Regions from separate parts of the Homo sapiens genome. Here all the other regions are linked to region 2. Evidence: promoter capture Hi-C in 16 types of primary human blood cells and fetal thymus (Javierre and others, 2016). All regions are on one chromosome and are shown on one strand. The core of a region is centred on a gene start or on the middle of the fragment in contact, and the rest is flanking DNA. Distances in the headings are between cores, read along the strand shown. Region 1 has its middle 59 kb from the start of GHITM. Region 2 holds the start of LRIT2 (leucine rich repeat, Ig-like and transmembrane domains 2). Region 3 overlaps CCSER2 (coiled-coil serine rich protein 2). Region 4 has its middle 82 kb from the start of GHITM.

Region 1 (4,365 bases), core at 1,706-4,205, 150 kb after region 2:
GGGATTAGAGACGTGAGCCACTGCACCCGGCCATCAAACTTCTAATTAGAAATCATGCAAGTAAGAAGAGAATGGAATGAAATATTTGAAGTGTTGATTGAAAAATCTCACTAACCTGGAATTTTATTTTTATTTTTTTCCAAGCCAGACTGTATCCAGCTTTATTAAAGATACTTTCCACAAACAATCATGGTATTTCAGGCAGGACATGGGCAGACAGTTGTTAACAGTATAAAACAATGTTCAAACTCCCTTATTCAATGGACTACTGAAATCAAAAAACCACTGTTAAACCCAATGAAGTCTTCATCTGATGCTCTGAATGGGGAAAGTTTAGAGTAAGGGTTGACCTGTCATATATAGCATGTTGTTTAACAACTTTTCATGAGCCAACCCGGACTTTCAGGAAGTGAAATGAAAATATCAGAAGTGATCTGAAGATCCACAATCTAGAAAGGGAACCATTGCTCTTTTGAGGGGTGCCATCTCACTGGTATCACTGGAAAGTCCAGATTGCCTGACACACTGGTAACCAATTGTTGGGGGTCAGGTCCCAACAGATGTCTGGGCTTCAGGGAGTTAAGTCTATGCTGAAAGGTGGAAAGGGAGAAGAGGACATAAAAATGAATTTGTTTTTCCCTCCCACAAGGCTTTTGTGCGAAGATGGCCATGGGTGTCAAAGTCAGGGAATCCTTCCTCCTGGGAGCCAAGAGGAAGTCTCTCAAAACTAGAAGGGAAGGGTGTTTTCCTCACATCAATCCAGCTTCGGAGACATTCTATGAGTGACATATGCCTCTTCCCCCAAAAATAGTAATGAAGTGTTCTGTGTGCTAACAACATAGCTTAAAAAAAAAGTAAAACAAAATTCTGCATTTTTATAAAACTTGATAAAAATAGTATTTCAAATTGTACAGTCACCAGAAGTACACAGTTATAAAAAACGCACACATTTCACTTGGCATCTCCAGTACCTTCAGCTTTCTGTGCCTCGTCTCTTTTGGCATCCCCATTTTCTGCTGGGTTATTCCCCTCCTTGCCAGCATCAGCTTTTCTTTTCTTTTTTTTTTGAGACAGAGTCTCGCTCTGTTGCCCAAGCTGGAGTGCAGTGGCGCCATCTCGGCTAACTGCAACCTCTGCCTTCCAGGTTCAAGTGATTCTCCTGCCTCAGCCTCCCGAGTTGCTGGGATTACAGGCATGCACCACCATGCCCAACTAATTTGTGTATTTTTCAGTAGAGGTGGAGTTTCATCATGTTGGCCAGGCTGGTCTCGATCTCCTGACCTCAAGTGATCCGCCGGCCTCGGCCTCCCAACATGCCGGGGTTACAGGCGTAAGCCACCGCGCCTGGCTCCCTTTTTCCCTTTGGGTACCTTCTCTCCCTTCTTTGCAGGGGCATTTTTAGGCTTGGGCTCTGGCTTTGGAGGAGCAGGTTTGGCAGACAGCCTCATGGATCTTCTCTGTGGTTTGTCCTTCACCTTGGCTTTATCTCCTTTAGCATCACCTTCAGCCTTTCTCTTGGGCACGGTGGCGGCGACAGCGGTGGGACGTAGGCGCTGGGGCAGGATGCAGCAGGCTTTGGTCAGATCAGTGGTTGTTCTCGCCTCTTCTCACACTGCCCCTAGAATTTTATATTCAGCAAAATTATTCTTCTAAAATGAAGAAGAAATAATTTCTCAGGCCAATAAAAACTGAAAAGAAATTTTACCACCAGATACTCCTTGCAAGAAATGTTACAAGAAGTTTTCAGGCAGAAGGAAAATGATACAGGTGAGAAACTTGGATCTGTATAAAGAATGGAAGAGTGTTGGTAAAGGAATAAACAAAGGTAAAATAAAATAATTTATTTTCTTATTCTTAATTGATCTAAAAGAGAACTGTTCGAAGTAATAATAGTAACAGTGTATTGGGTGATGATTAGCATGTAGATAATTAAAATGAATGAATGCAATGTCACAAGGGGCTAGAGAGAAATTGGGACCAGGTGCTTGTTATCAGGTGCCTGCCCTACATGTGAAGAGTTATGATGTTATTTGAGAATAGATTTAGATTAGTTAAGAACATATATATGATATACTTTAGAGGTAGAAAATTTTAAAAGAAGTATAATGGGTGCACTAGGAAGATAAAATTCAATCATATCAAATACTCAAAACCAGAGAAGGAAGGAAGGAAAAGGAGGGCAAAAAAAAAAAAAAGAAAGAACAGATGGGTGCGGTGGCATGCAGTTGTAGTCCCAGCTACTTAGGTGACTGAGGTGGGAGAATCATTAGAGCCCAGGAGTTTGAGACTAACCTGGGTAACACAGTGAGACACCATCACCTTTTTTTTTTTTTTAAAAAGAAAGAACAAATGCAACCAATAGATAGCAGTGGCAAACGTGGTAGATACTAATCTAACTCTATTAATAATCACCTTAAATATAGGTGGTTTCAATACACTGATAGGAAGACCGATTTTCAGACTGGAGAGTGAATTGAAAAAATAAGACTCAACTGTATGTTGTCTACAGGTATTCCACTTCAAATACAAAGACCCAGGTTAAAAGTCAAAGTAAACATATGGAGATTAATATTGAAAGGTCTTTGTGAACGTTTGCAAAAGGTGGGGGGACATATGTCAGAAGGCAGATAAGTCCAGCCTAGATGATTTAACATTTTTGTGTAGCGGCGCAGGAATCCAGAGGGTAATTTGTTCTCACGCTGATGACTGGAAACTGTCATTTCTTATAGTGGAGGTTTTACTGGTTTCAGTGTTGCTAGAGCAGCAGCTCTCAAAATGGTCCGTGGGCCAGCAGTATTTGCATCACCTGGGAACTTGTTAGAAATGTAGATTCTTGGGCTCCAACCCAGGCCTACTAAAGTGGAAGCTCTGGGGGTGGGGCCCACAGTCTGTGTTTACTAAGCCTTCCAGGTGATTCTGATGCACACTCAGGTGTGAAAACCTCTGCTGTAGAGCACGCTTATGTGAGTGTGTTCATGCACCACATTCTGGGCATTTTCAAGAATAGGTATTCATTCTCAGACATATGCTCCCTGCTACTGCTTCCTATGTAGGGATGCATTCATTTTCCTAGTCAAACTGGAACAATGTCATATGTGTCTGAAAATCCCTTAAACTTTGCTTCCCAAGGGTCGGTTCAAGACGAGAAGCATCTGTATCTCCTGCGGGCTTGTAAAGAAGGCAGAATCGTGGGCCCATCCCAGATCTACTTAAGCAGAATCTTCATTTTTGACATGATCCTGTAAGTTTATTGTAATCTAATTAAGCAATTAGGTAGTGAAAATGCTCATTAAGAAGAACAAGCATTGAAAATTGAGTAAAGAAAATAAAACAACCACATTTATTGTCATAAAAGGGGTTCTGGACTGGAGTTTAGGACCACTGGGGCAAAGCTGAAGGGTCTAAGATGCCTCCTGAAAAAGAAAGCCAAAGGAAGTTTCCTTATAAAAGATGACAACAAAGAAGTCTTCAACCAGCCATAGCCAAGAGGATGTGATTGGGAGGGCTTTGAAGAGTTTGTCACTCCATTGTGTCTGAGTCTTTCTAAAAATTATTTTATTTCTAAAAATTTCATTATTATTATTTCAGAGCAGAGTCTCACTCTGTCACCTAGGCTGGAGTGCAGTGGTGTGATCATAGCTCACTGCAGCCTCAAGTTCCTGGGCTCAACTAAGCCTCCTGCCTCAGCCTCCTGAGTAGTTGGGACTACGGGTGTGCACCACCACACGTGGCCAATTTTTCTATAGAAACAGGGTCTCACTATGTTGCCTAAGCTAATCTTGAACCCTTGGCCTCAAGCAATCCTCCTGCCTTGGCCTCCCAAAGTGTTGGGACACAGGCATGAGCCACTTTGCCTTGACTGGGTCCAATTCTTTACTCCTTGGATTTCATACAATAATTGGGTGTCCCTTGGAGAAGGGGTGTGCTGTAGATAAAACCTGGCAAGGCTGTTTCTCTAAGACATGAGGGCATCAATCATATGGCTTTGACACTTCTGCAACAGAGCATAAGATGAAGGAAGGGAGACTGCTGTGCAGTGTTGATATCTTGGGGGTTCCAGGTTTCAGTTGTAGCAGGAGAAGGACACATCCTGGCAACATCTGGCAGGGAATAGAGAAACAATAGCAGCACTCAGATGAAGCTGACATGTTCATAAATACACCTGAGATATACCTGGGGACTCCAAAAAACACTTAAAGGGCACTTCAGGGGCATGACCCAATGAAAAATGAGTCATTTCTGCTAATCTCACCACATGAGCTCCCATAGGCTATGATGGGCTGGACAAAGTCCTATTCACTTTCAAAGACAGTTTTGTGCCTCTCTCATTTGGATCATTCCTTCTACTAGCTCTTTGTTTAGGCT
Region 2 (4,476 bases), core at 943-3,442:
AATTTTAAGACCCTAGTTCTGAAAAGCATCCTGCAAGAGGGAAGATGGGTTGTAATATTTCCAGACCCTCTTGCCATTGTTGTTAGGGTCTCTTGAGTTTAGGGACTACACTGAACCACAGGTTGTTTAACATAAATAACTTGACCCATGCTAACTTCAATTATCCTGGTCTCCTGCCTCAATTTCCAAGAGAGCCACTCCCTCTGTTCATATGCCAAATAAGGAAACCAGAGAATGAGGGGGTCAGGAAAGGAGTGGGGGGCAGTAGAGAAGTGGCCTAGATGATTCTAGAGATAGCATGCCAGTGGGTGTGCTTCACAAGCTTCCCGCAAACTTCTTGAAAGTTGGATGGAGCTGGATTCATTTGAAAAGGCTGGCATGAGATGGACAGAGAGGAAATTGTGGGGGAATGGAGGACTCTTAAGATCTTTATCCTTTGGGGTAAGGGGAGAGAAAGGAATCCACTAGTGGTTTGGAATAGTCATGAATTAAATCACATATTTCCATGAAACAAGCCTGACAAAGCCTTAGCAAAGCTGGTAGGGGACTCTGGAGTGATAATTGCTCATCAGAGTTTTCCCCCATCAGGGCAAACTGGCCAGGCCCTCACCACCCTCAGTCACTGAATGTGGGATGTGGCTGCTTTGGGAAGGACGTGACCTCATGCAAGCACTCCTTGCAGCTGAGCATCCACTTATACCTTGAAGGGGGATCTAGGAAGCACATAGCCATATGTATGACAAACTTTGTGCCGATAGCTCTCTCTTTGTTTTGGATTTTTACCTTTAGACAAACACAGTGGTCCCCCCAGGTTTTAGAGTTAGACTGTTTGGAAACTCCTGCAAATATTTCTGGCTTGGATGGAAAGCCTGGAGTGTAATCAGCTTAGCTGGTGACCCATTTCCCCCCTCACTGGTTAGCTAAGCGGATTTTCTTTCCTGAGGCCTTTTGTAGGGTACAATGTATATCATGAGTCTTAAAGGAACTCATGGAATTTCAATATTCAACTGGAAGTGCCCTAGTTAATAGAGATGTAGACTTTTCGGATCTTAAAGAGTTTGTCAGTGGGAGGAGGATTAATGGGCACCAACTGTGTGCTAGGTGTTGTATTTAACATAATCTCAAACTTTTCTAAAAATATGGCTGGATGCAATGGCTTGCACCTGTAATCCCAGTTACTTGGGAGGCTGAGAAGTTTGAGACCAGCCTGGGCAACAGAGTGAGACCCTGTCTCTGAAAAAATACAAAAATTAAAAAATAATGAGAAATAAATTCCTGGAAACACTATGAGGTATTTGTTAATATTCTCATGATACAGAAAAGACTCACAGAGATTAAATTACATTCCAAAGATCTCAAGATTCAGAAGCACAAACAAGAGAGAAGACTCCTTGGGACAGGGTCTATAATAGGTTTGCCCTTGACCCTGTTCCTTTCATTGGGCAAGAGTATAGCTTAAAGCAAATGACCAGTAAATATTTGTGGAATAAATGAAGAGTGAAAGAGCAAGCATATAAAATTGTATACATCTCTTTTTAAAATGTAGGTTGCCCATTTTGATGAAGTGAAATGCACAGTATTAAGGAAAGGTTGTGAAGTCCAAGAAAACAATCTTTTGGTTTAATCAGAAAATACCATCTTGTATTTGAAACTGGTGACCCAAGCTGCAGAAGCAGCTGTCTTGATGCAGTAGGAGCATGACTACACCACCCGTGGTGTTGGGAAGAGAACAAATGATAGGAATGAACACAGAATTACTTTGTTACTCATCACCTATTTTCACTTTGAGAAAATGATTGGAAATTCTAGGTTTCAGGAATCAACTGCAAATGATGAAGCATTAGATGGATTCTGGCCACATCCCCTGAACAGTGGTGCTCAGAATAGCACTGCCTGCTTGTTTCTCAGACTTCTGTTTAAGACTCTAAGAAATGTAGAATCTGTATGGAATTGGACATCTGACTTGGAGTTTGCTTTTCAGACTCAAGAATTACACAAATGTTGAATTTCCTGACCCTAGTTAAGAGACATTGATCCCCCTTCGTGTGTTCTGACTGAACTTGTGGTCTGGGCTGTAACAGACCTCAGAGCTCCCATGGGCTTTCCTGCTGCTGTGTGACTTACATCATCATGGATTACCAATAATAGGATTTGCCACTCGGAAGCTGGGGCGATACTTATTCAAAACTCACAACGTATTTTCTTACAGAGAAATATGGCTTCAGTTTTTCATTACTTCCTGTTAGTTCTGGTCTTTCTGGATACACACGCAGCTCAGCCTTTCTGTCTGCCAGGATGCACTTGCTCAGAGGAGAGTTTTGGCAGGTGCGCTCTGCTGGCCAGATGTTAGAGGGTTATGGGGAATGGGTTTTCTTTGGGGATGATGTGGAGTGGAAGCAGGCTTAGAATTGGCAGGAAATCAGCAAAACTCTATGAGACTCATTCTAGTTGGGACTGAACTTTGCTGAACTGTGCATTTTTACCAAAATGAGTCTAACTCTTTTATTTCAATGAATAATAATATTTTTATTCTGATTCACATGTCTAATGCCAGGATCAGCCTGACCCCACTTTTCAGTCCCCTGTTGTTTATCTTAAAGCTGTTCTGGTTTCTTGTACAGGACTCTGCAGTGCACATCTGTCTCCTTGGGAAAGATCCCTGGGAACCTTTCTGAAGAGTTCAAGCAAGTGAGAATTGAAAATTCACCCTTATTTGAGATGCCCCAAGGGTCTTTCATCAACATGAGCACCTTGGAATACCTCTGGCTCAATTTTAACAATATCAGTGTGATCCACCTAGGAGCCCTGGAACACCTGCCAGAACTGAGGGAGCTGAGACTGGAGGGGAACAAGCTCTGCTCAGTACCATGGACAGCGTTCCGTGCCACCCCTCTCCTGAGGGTCTTGGATCTCAAACGCAACAAGATTGATGCACTCCCTGAGCTGGCTCTTCAATTCTTGGTCAGCCTGACCTACCTTGACCTATCCTCCAATAGGCTTACAGTTGTATCCAAGAGTGTCTTCCTGAACTGGCCAGCCTACCAGAAATGCCGGCAGCCTGACTGTGGGGCTGAGATTCTCTCCAGCCTGGTGGTGGCCCTGCATGACAACCCCTGGGTATGTGACTGTCGCCTAAGGGGGCTTGTCCAGTTTGTCAAGTCCATTACCCTCCCAGTCATCCTGGTGAATTCCTACCTGATATGTCAGGGCCCTCTGTCCAAGGCAGGGCAGCTTTTTCATGAAACTGAGCTTAGTGCTTGCATGAAGCCACAGATCTCAACCCCCAGTGCCAATATCACCATCCGGGCAGGACAGAATGTGACCCTGCGATGCTTGGCACAGGCCAGCCCCTCACCATCCATTGCATGGACTTATCCCCTGAGTATGTGGAGAGAATTTGATGGTAAGCCACATGCACCCTCTCAGTGTATCTGGAGGGAATGGAGAGGTCTGTAGCAAACCCATCCTCATTAGAGAGATTCAAAGCTGGGTCAGTCACGAAGGGTGGGTGCAAGTAAGATTGGGATAGCCCTGAATTATGCTCACTAGAACAGAAAAGATTTCAAGGTAGTGTTCCACTATTGGCATTATTTTAAATGTTTGCATACAGATCTCTTTGCATACAGAACATATACACATATATAAACACATATTTCAGGGCTAATTTAATATCTTATGCAAATATTATAAAATTTTATATGAGCAGATATAGTCTTTGGGAATCTTCTAGATGCAAAACACTGGACTATGTATTTTAGAATTCTAGAATTTTTTACTAGGATTGATTTTAGAGATGATCTATTAGTTATTTCCTTAACTTGCCTGAGCAGAATCACCTGGGGTGCTTGTTTGAAATAACACTGACATAAAATTGTTCAGACCTTATTGGCTTGAATTTGTAATACTGGGACCCAGGGAAAGGAAGTGACCTCTGTGGGCCCTGGGGCTGGAATTCAAACCTGCCTCTTCCTTCCTGGAACCCTCTGCTCTGTTTTCATACCTCAGCTGGGATTACCTTTAATGCTACTCTGTAGGGTTGGGCATATCACAAAGCCGGGGATGGCCTCCCTGGGGGTATCCCAAAGCTGAAAAGAAAAATCTTCGTACATTCCTCGTGTCCTGTCTTCTGTTCTCTGTCTAGAAGACAACTAGGAATAGCTGGGTAAAACTTGGGAAATATAGTCATTTGCCCAGGTATTTGTTATACATTATGACAAAACTCTGGATGGTTTAAAAATACCCAATTAACTGAATTTTCACATTCTGTATTGTTTTGATAATACCTTATTGGTTTGGCATTCAATATCAATGAAAGAAAATTATAGGATTTATTGTTGTAGCCTCTTTGAAAACCAAGAAATGCATACAGGTGTTGTCTTTCGTGGTGTTCTATAATCACTGTTTGGCAACGTGTTATATAATCTCTCAGTAAAAATATAAGCATTGAACACTTACTTTCAAACTAATGAGGTAGGT
Region 3 (3,834 bases), core at 1,127-3,626, 250 kb before region 2:
TATTCTATTTTTTCATGCTTTTAATGAGAGGTATTGAATTTTATTATTTCTATTGAGAAAATGACTTACATAATTTAATATGTCAAAAGATTTCTTTGTACTCACATTAGATTGAAACTAACTTGGTTGTAGAGGAGTTTTCTTATTACACTCTTACTGAAACTATGCCTTTTCAACCAAAAATACTTTTTTCTCAGTAATTTAAAATACAAGTATGTGGTCAGGCATGGTGGCTCATGTCTGTAATCCCAGCATTTGGGGAGGCTGAGGCAAAAAGATCACCTGAGCCCAGGAGTGTGAGACCCCTGTCTCTACAAAAAATAAAAAAATTAGCCAGGCATGGTGGTGCACACCTGTGGTCCCAGATACTTGGGAGGCTGAGGCAGGAGGATCACTTGAGCCCAGGAGGTCAAGGCTATAGTGGACCATAATTGCACCATTGCACTCTAGCCTGGGTGACAGACCAAGACCCTGTCTCAAAATAAATTAAATAACTTTTAAAATACAAGTATGTTTCTATGGATTATCACAGTATACTGCTAAGTCTTCTACCATGCAGTGCAAACCTGGGCACCTGTTTTTTTTCCTCTCAGGGAAGTTAAGTCCTTATTGTGATCTCTCACTAAGATTAAGCCTCTGTCCTCCCTTCCCAGAGCTATGATCCTTTTCTCTTCTCTATTCCTTCTAGCCCCCTCACCCTCCTGCAACCATTCAAAAGAAAAGCAACTAAAATAAGACTGCTGTATACAAGTTGTGTAAACACTTGCATAAGTCACTTCTTAGTCTTAGCTTCTTCACATGCAGAAAAAGAGTGAGCTTACTATCATTTAAGCACACTGGAGGTTTCTACAAGCATCTTGAGGGATGGAACTTTATATTTACACATGTATTTTTATATTCTTCTTTATATTTACACATCCAAATTAATACAGTGCCTGGCATGAAGTAGGCACATAAATATCTGCTGAATAAGCAAGTGAATATCTGCTTTTCCTCCTTTCCCCTTTTCTACTACTATATTTCTTCCTCTTATTTCCTGTTGATTCTCTACTTCAGAGATCTTATTTGCAGCCATTAAGTGACACAAAATCCCCTTGGACAAATCTCAATACATTCAAATTTTTGCTCTGCTGCTGTTGGCAGCAAACCACTCTCCTTCAAAGGCTCTTCAATGTGCTTTTGGGGAAAAGAACCTAGAACTAGCAGTCAAGAGTCCTAAGTTATAGTACTAGCTCAGCCACTTATTAATTATGGGAACTTTGCTATGCCAGTTAATCTCCCCAGCTTTTGCTACCTTATCTACAAAACAAAGGTATTTGGCCAGATGATTCCTATAGTAACTTTTATAGTTACTTTTTTTATAGTTACTTTTGTCTGATGAGGAGGAAGACTAACATCCAGTTTCCAGAACAGTGAGGCTGAAGGAGCCAGAGGTGGTATAAAGACTTCCATGAGGATGGCAAAATGGAACTTATCATGCTTAATGGAATCACCAGTCTTCTTAGTAGTACAATTATAAGGCATAACATCCCTATGGGGTAAATGGAGACACCTGGAAAGCCCAAACTTCCATCTAGAAGCAAGGGGCATGGTCTTCTATTAAACAACTGTCTGCAAACAGATGAGCTTCCACCGCCTTTGACATTAAATAATATCACATCATCTTTTTCTGTTGGTATCTTTTGCTTTCTATGATTCAAACACAACCTTCATTTTCTTCACCAAGCTCCTTGATTCTTTCAACTAGACTTTCCCACATCCTTTGAACCTTATAGACTTACACAGCACTTTAACTACATCAATGCATTCCCAATTTCTTAAGAAGTACTTATAAACAGAGGAATCCTTATTTGTCTGTATTTCCTTCCCTAATTCCCCACTTCTAGTTTGAAAGCCAAATATCTGGGATGAAAGGGGATCATCAAACTTTTGTTGAATAAATTAATTCCTACCATTGTATCTTATACAGAGCACAAAAAAAATACTTGTTAGATGAAAAGAAACAAAACTCTTTTATAAACTTTAAAGGCTTATGGCTAAGCTTTATAAACTGAATTGCTGATTATATTAGCCATTATATTTCTCTGTTCCTTTGTGTTACTAGGATTCCACTCCTAAATATAAGGCAAAAGAGTCAAGGCTGACTTATTAGGCAATCTCTTAACAAGAAATGTCTACTACCTGGCCCCAAACAACAGCAGAATGACTAATGTCCATATGATAATTCTCTGGCTCACACACATCCTGCACTAAGTTCTGAGAACTCAGATTAAATGATAGAGTATTTTTAGCACTAAACATGTTTTGAGATATAACATTTTTGAAAAACAAATAAGCATGGAATACATAGTTACTTCCTATTTAAAATAAACCATTCCCTAGTTCTGCCTAAAACATAACTTTTATTGTCTGTATCTTCGTGCATTTATATTTCCTAACACCCTCAACATTTGAGTAATTATAATAAACATATTTGAAAAGTTTTAACAAAAAAGGAATATGCTAAATCATATATTTTCAAAGTGTCATATGCTGCTAAAGTGGGATGACTGCATACAGGACTGCTATTTCCTTTAAGGCATGTGGAACTACTCTCATAAATCATGCAATAAGAGGAGAGTAGACACGCAAATAAAATGAACTATAGTATGTAGAATGAAAAAGCTATTAAAATGCACATTCACTTACATAAGACACACAAGAGAAGCTTTAGGAAAACACATAAACACCTAAGAGACAAGCAAAAATAAATTACCTACAAAAAAATTAACAGCCATGACAGATTCAAAATCATTAGAGATTGCTGTAAAAAGAGTGAAATAAAACATCAAAATAGCAAATGACTGGAGAGGAGGCTAAGAGCAAATGTTACTTACAGGAATTCGTCTCCAGGGTGTTTGGGTATATTTATCAGCATAAGTGCATTTTTCCTCTTTACATTTTTGGTGGCAGATATGCTGAGTTGCCTAAACAAAAACACAAAATTTTTACATTGGTTTAATTCTGCATATACACACCAAGACACACAAGAGAAACTTTAGGAAAACACATAAAACACCTAAGAGACAAGCAAAACTAAATTACCTATAAAAAAAATTAACAGCCATGACAGGAGGTAATCAGGGCTCTTTTAGGGGGTATGTAACCAAATCAACAAAAAAGTCACACATGGCAAAATAGTTCTGGCTACTTTTTTGAAGAAAAAATGTTATCACAGCCAACAATAAGGTCTATTCAGTGGTCTCTCATCTTATTCAGGGAGTGGGTTTGAGAGTCAGCCTGTAAGGTTAGAATTTTGAATAATCTAAATTACCCTTGGCAATCTCTTATATTGTCCATAAAACATACAATATATGATTTTATGTATATCAATATAAAGAGTTAAGTATATGGATGTAGAATATATAGGGATATTCAGTATATAAAGAATACAACTGCAGAATTTACAGTATTTCCCTAAACTGTCATGGTACTACAGTCACTAAAGCTCAGTTTCTTAAATCCATATTTTAATGGGACTCTGCTGGACATTGAATACCACCAGTCCACTTGTCAGGATGTCTGTTCTCATGTGCAGTGTGATGAAGCCTCTTTCATGATGTATTGACTTTACTGGACTGAAATATTTTGAAGAGTGTCAGCCCTTTGACAAGATCCATCTGACCATTTCTGTTCACAAATGATTTCTCCACACGATTCCACTCAAAGCACACTCATTTATATAACACAAAGTAACTTTCCCAAATAATCATCACTTTCAAAAAAGATCATGAAAATACTGATAAAAAGAATTCTCCCGGCCAGGCACGGTGGCTCACGCCTGTAATCCCAGCA
Region 4 (4,085 bases), core at 1,120-3,619, 170 kb after region 2:
TCCTGCTAAATCACGGAGGTTTAGGGAGTTCCTTCAGGTCCTCAATAACCTTGTTTGTGGAGGCCTGGGGAGTTTATTCAGACCCACAATAAAACGTAATCCTAGATGGTCCTGTTAAGAATTCCTTTGTTATTTTTTCCTGCATTAAGTCCCAGGAAAGGCCTAGGCAAAACTCTTGGTGGGCTTTTGTTACATCCCAGCCTTTGTATAAGGGCACTGGCTTTTAATATTCAACTTAACCACTCAGTACTGAAACAGTTGTTATGGAGGCTTGAGTTACTGAGACCTAGCCTGCCACAGCCAGAGAAAGCACTCAGTTTGTCCTGGATGGTGGGTGCCCTAGGGATATGGTTGCAGCACCCACAGCATCTGCAGTAGGTACTTATCACACACAGTATATATTGATCTATGTTCCTTATTGTCTGTGTTCCTGCCCTAGAATGTAAGCTTTAGGAATGCAAGGGTTTGGTCTGGTTTATAGACTGCAGCTAGAACAGTGCCTGGCACATAGGGAAGGCTCAATTCATTTCTGGTGAATTAATGAATGCATTTCCCAAGGGTCTCAAGGAAAGAATGTGAGCATTAATGGCTCTGGGTTACCCACAGTATTACTTTGTGGACTCTGGAGATCCCTTTGCTAATCTTGGGCTGGTAAACAGAGAGACATTCGGAGCAGCCCACACATTCCCTTTCAAAATGACTGTGAGAGTGGCAGCTTTAAAAGAGTAAGGCAGAACACAGTTTTTAATACTTCTGGACAACCAACACAAGGCTCAAGATTGCTTATTTTTCAAGGGTAATTGCAAACCATTGCAGCTGCACTGTCCCGAGCTTGCTGGGCATATTTCACTGCAGTGGAATACACCTGTGACTGCTGCTACCAAGGGATGGCAAACCCAACCAACACAGAGCCTTCTCCAACACCGAGCCTTCCCCAAGGGAGTTCAGCTCATCCATCAAAATGTTAACTCCTCAGCTGTGAATGTTCAGGAATCTTGAAGGCACCATCAACATATTCAATTTGTACTCTGGTTTCAGTATAAGAGGAACACTCTCACTCCAGGTGTTTTATTTACCAGTACTGTTTTGAGAGAGGGTCTGTATTTCAGGGTATTTTATTTTACTTTGGGATGAAAGTCTACATTTGTCAATTTTATCTGGCATTAAATCTTCTTAGACTGTAATGGAAAAGGCCAAATATTTATTTTATCTGATATTTTTATGCATCAGAAATTTTTTTATGGGATTCAAAGAATAGAATCTGAGTTGGGATTTGGACTTTCGGATCTGACTGAAGGTCCAGGTAACTCAAGTGGAGACAAGTACAAATTCCAAATTAAGTTGGTGATAAATTTACAGAACAGCATGGAATTTATCCCTGAGCCTGCAGTCAGGTTTTTAAAAAATGATCAAGGGTATGAATGCATGATTCAAAGTAATCTCAGGAAGCAACACAAAGTTCAGAAGCTTTATCAATGCTAGATAGATTAATGGGGTTTGAAATGAAATATCATAAATCAAGTGTGAGCAGACGTTAATCCAAATCGTGCCTCCAGCTTGGGAGATTATGTGTAAGATAGGAGATAGTTACTCATAAGAGACTACTAGAAAAAAAGACCTTGTTTTTAGTGAGGGCCTATTTTGTCTCAGGTTCAGAACCAGGGGCTCAGGAATCAGGGCTGCAAAAGGGCATGTCCCCATTCACACAGCAGCACAAAGAAGAGGGAAATTTTCCTGCACTGTCTTCAGATTTAGATTTAGATACCAGAGAATTCAGGGAAATAGAGCCATAGTATTCTCAGGGCCTGGCTGATGGCTGATTCCAGCAGTACGCTGTTTTGAGAAGGCAGTTGCTGAAGTGGCTAAGAGCCTTGGTTTTCCCATTCACAGTACAGAAATGACAAGAGTAGTAAGTCACAAGTTTGTTGGAATGATTAAATGAGATACTCCAAGTACTCAGCACATAGTAAACATTAAAACATGTCAGTATTTTCACTATTAATGAACATAATGTGGTCTGATGTGGCAAATTTCTCAAAGCTATGTCTTTCCCTTTAACTTTTCAGTCCAGAAGCCACTGGGATTCCTGGAGTGTTTTCGGAGCAGTGAGTACCACAGACTTTAGCAAGCACACTGGATGAGAATCCAACAGTGACCTTGCTTGAGGAAGATGAACAACGCTTCAGACAGCATGTCAAATAGATTCAAGTTTTAAGAAATCAGGAAGAAACCATCTTGGAAAACAAATATTGTGAGCAAATTGACCACAAAGCATGTTAACTTCCAGTACTGGTAATGGTTAAGTTCAGTTGCGGGTAACAGAAAAACTGAAGCTAATTGTGGTTTAAAAATACTTTTTTAAAAAGTTTGTTTCTCTTTTACTGAAGGAACCAAGAGGTTTGGCCCCTTTGCGAGCATCAGGAACTCAGGCTGCTCCTAACCATGTTGCTCTGCCACCCTGCAGATGCTGCCCTTAGCTCAAGATGGCTGCTTAGGCTCCAGCCTTCACATCCATATTCCAGCCAGCATAAATCAGGAAAAGACTAACAAGGGCAGGCCTTCTCCTTTTAAAAATCTTTCAAAAGATTTCACATGATACTTGCACTTATATTTTGTTGTCCAGAGCTTTGCTATGTGCCAGCAGCAATGGTGGCTAGAAAATTTAGTCTTTATTTTAGATAACTATGTGCTTATCAAAAAATTGGGGCTTTTTTTTTCTTTGTTTTACTAGGAAGACAGAGAAATGAGATAGATACTGGTCTCTGTCACACATCCCTTCCCTTTGTTCTGTAGTGGATACAGTCAGCCACATTGGACACACTAAGGTGTGTGTTTCTGCCCATTTTTGATGTGGGAGATAATGACAAAGAATTGGGCTCCTCTATTTTACAGCCAAAATTAAAGGGTATGATTGTTTTTATTTTACAGATTAGAAACTTAGAGATGCTAAGTATCTTCCCCAAGATAACACAGTGAGTGGTAGACACAGGATTCCAGCCAAGGTTGGTCTGACTGACAGCAAAGCCCCTGCCCTTCTCTTCCCCTCTCCACCAGCAAGCTGTTGGTAGAAGGCTTGGTGTGGAAACCCCTCACCAGTCACACAGTTGAGAGGCCATTCAAACATCCACATGTGTACACCAGGCAAACTGCTCTGGAAATAGAGAGTAACAGCTCTTTGTCCTAGAACATTTGCTAACCCTGTGCAGGTCAGGTACACTTCTAGTCAAAGGTTCCAGGCTCAAGGGCTGGGGCTTTTGCCATGAGAAGCTTCCCCTGGGATGCTGAAGGTCAAAATAAGGAGGGTTTTTTCCTTCAAGTGTTTATTGAAGGAGCATTTTGTTTTCATCTCGAATAAAGCAAAGTGGTTCATCTTCTATGATTTAATTCTCATTCCCACTCTCATTCTAATTTTTTTTTCTTCCTGGAAAAGTTTGCTGCAAGACCGCTCTCTTTTATTTTCACTGAGAAATGATGGGGGAAAGACGTAATCGGTTTTGGTGAACTTCATTCAACTTAAAACCCAGGGTGTCCTCCACTAAAATGAAACAAACCAGAAAAACCCAAACACACATTATAATCACTGATAAAACATCAGGTTTACAGACATTCTTGATGGAAGCAGTATCAGGGCACTACTGTATGCTCTGTAGCAACAAAGCTGGAGGACACAAAGAGGGTTCCTAGCGATTGTGTGAAACATGATTTTTACTTGACAATTTCTTTTGTCCAGTATGACTCACTTTATGCATGCATTAGAAATGTATAAGGTTATTAGGTGGCAGAGTCCCAAAAGAATCATCATAATTAAGGACAGTAGGATGCACCAGAAGGAACCATAAGCTGTGGAATTGCATAGATCTGGATTATTCAGTAGCTGAGTCTATTTCTAGATTGTGGCTTTCGGCTGGTCTTTAACCATCAGTTTCTTCACTTATAAAATAGAAATAATTACACCTGGTTTGTAGGGAGATTTTTAGGATATGTATATATATATATACATTCTCATTGATAAGTGGCTTAAGATACAAGGTATCAAAATAATGTATGTCATAGAACAGAGGTCAGTGTGCACATTGATCCTTCAG

Evidence for each region. Contacts are between HindIII fragments. The CHiCAGO score rates a contact against its expected background, and 5 or more counts as called.
Region 1: a fragment that was not itself captured here is called in contact with the fragment with the promoter of LRIT2 in region 2 in 1 of 17 cell types (neutrophils); the score reaches 5.1 in neutrophils.
Region 3: a fragment that was not itself captured here is called in contact with the fragment with the promoter of LRIT2 in region 2 in 1 of 17 cell types (neutrophils); the score reaches 5.7 in neutrophils.
Region 4: a fragment that was not itself captured here is called in contact with the fragment with the promoter of LRIT2 in region 2 in 1 of 17 cell types (neutrophils); the score reaches 5.7 in neutrophils.

Annotation. Positions count from the first base shown.
Region 1 is chr10:84,078,584-84,082,948 of GRCh38, reverse strand. It overlaps the pseudogene HMGN2P8. Among named protein-coding and RNA genes, the nearest start is that of GHITM, 59 kb to the left of the region's middle. The HindIII fragment of the contact is 6,787 bases long and covers 1-4,365 here.
Region 2 is chr10:84,223,260-84,227,735 of GRCh38, reverse strand. LRIT2 (leucine rich repeat, Ig-like and transmembrane domains 2) reads left to right here and starts at 2,192. Exons shown (of 3, transcript NM_001017924.5): 1 at 2,192-2,325; 2 at 2,622-3,403. The coding sequence starts at 2,216. The HindIII fragment of the contact is 7,130 bases long and covers 325-4,476 here.
Region 3 is chr10:84,476,707-84,480,540 of GRCh38, reverse strand. It overlaps CCSER2 (coiled-coil serine rich protein 2), which reads right to left. Exons shown (of 10, transcript NM_001284240.2): 9 at 2,877-2,966. Among named protein-coding and RNA genes, the nearest start is that of CCSER2, 150 kb to the right of the region's middle. The HindIII fragment of the contact is 666 bases long and covers 2,044-2,709 here.
Region 4 is chr10:84,055,102-84,059,186 of GRCh38, reverse strand. No RefSeq gene overlaps it. Among named protein-coding and RNA genes, the nearest start is that of GHITM, 82 kb to the left of the region's middle. The HindIII fragment of the contact is 1,800 bases long and covers 1,470-3,269 here.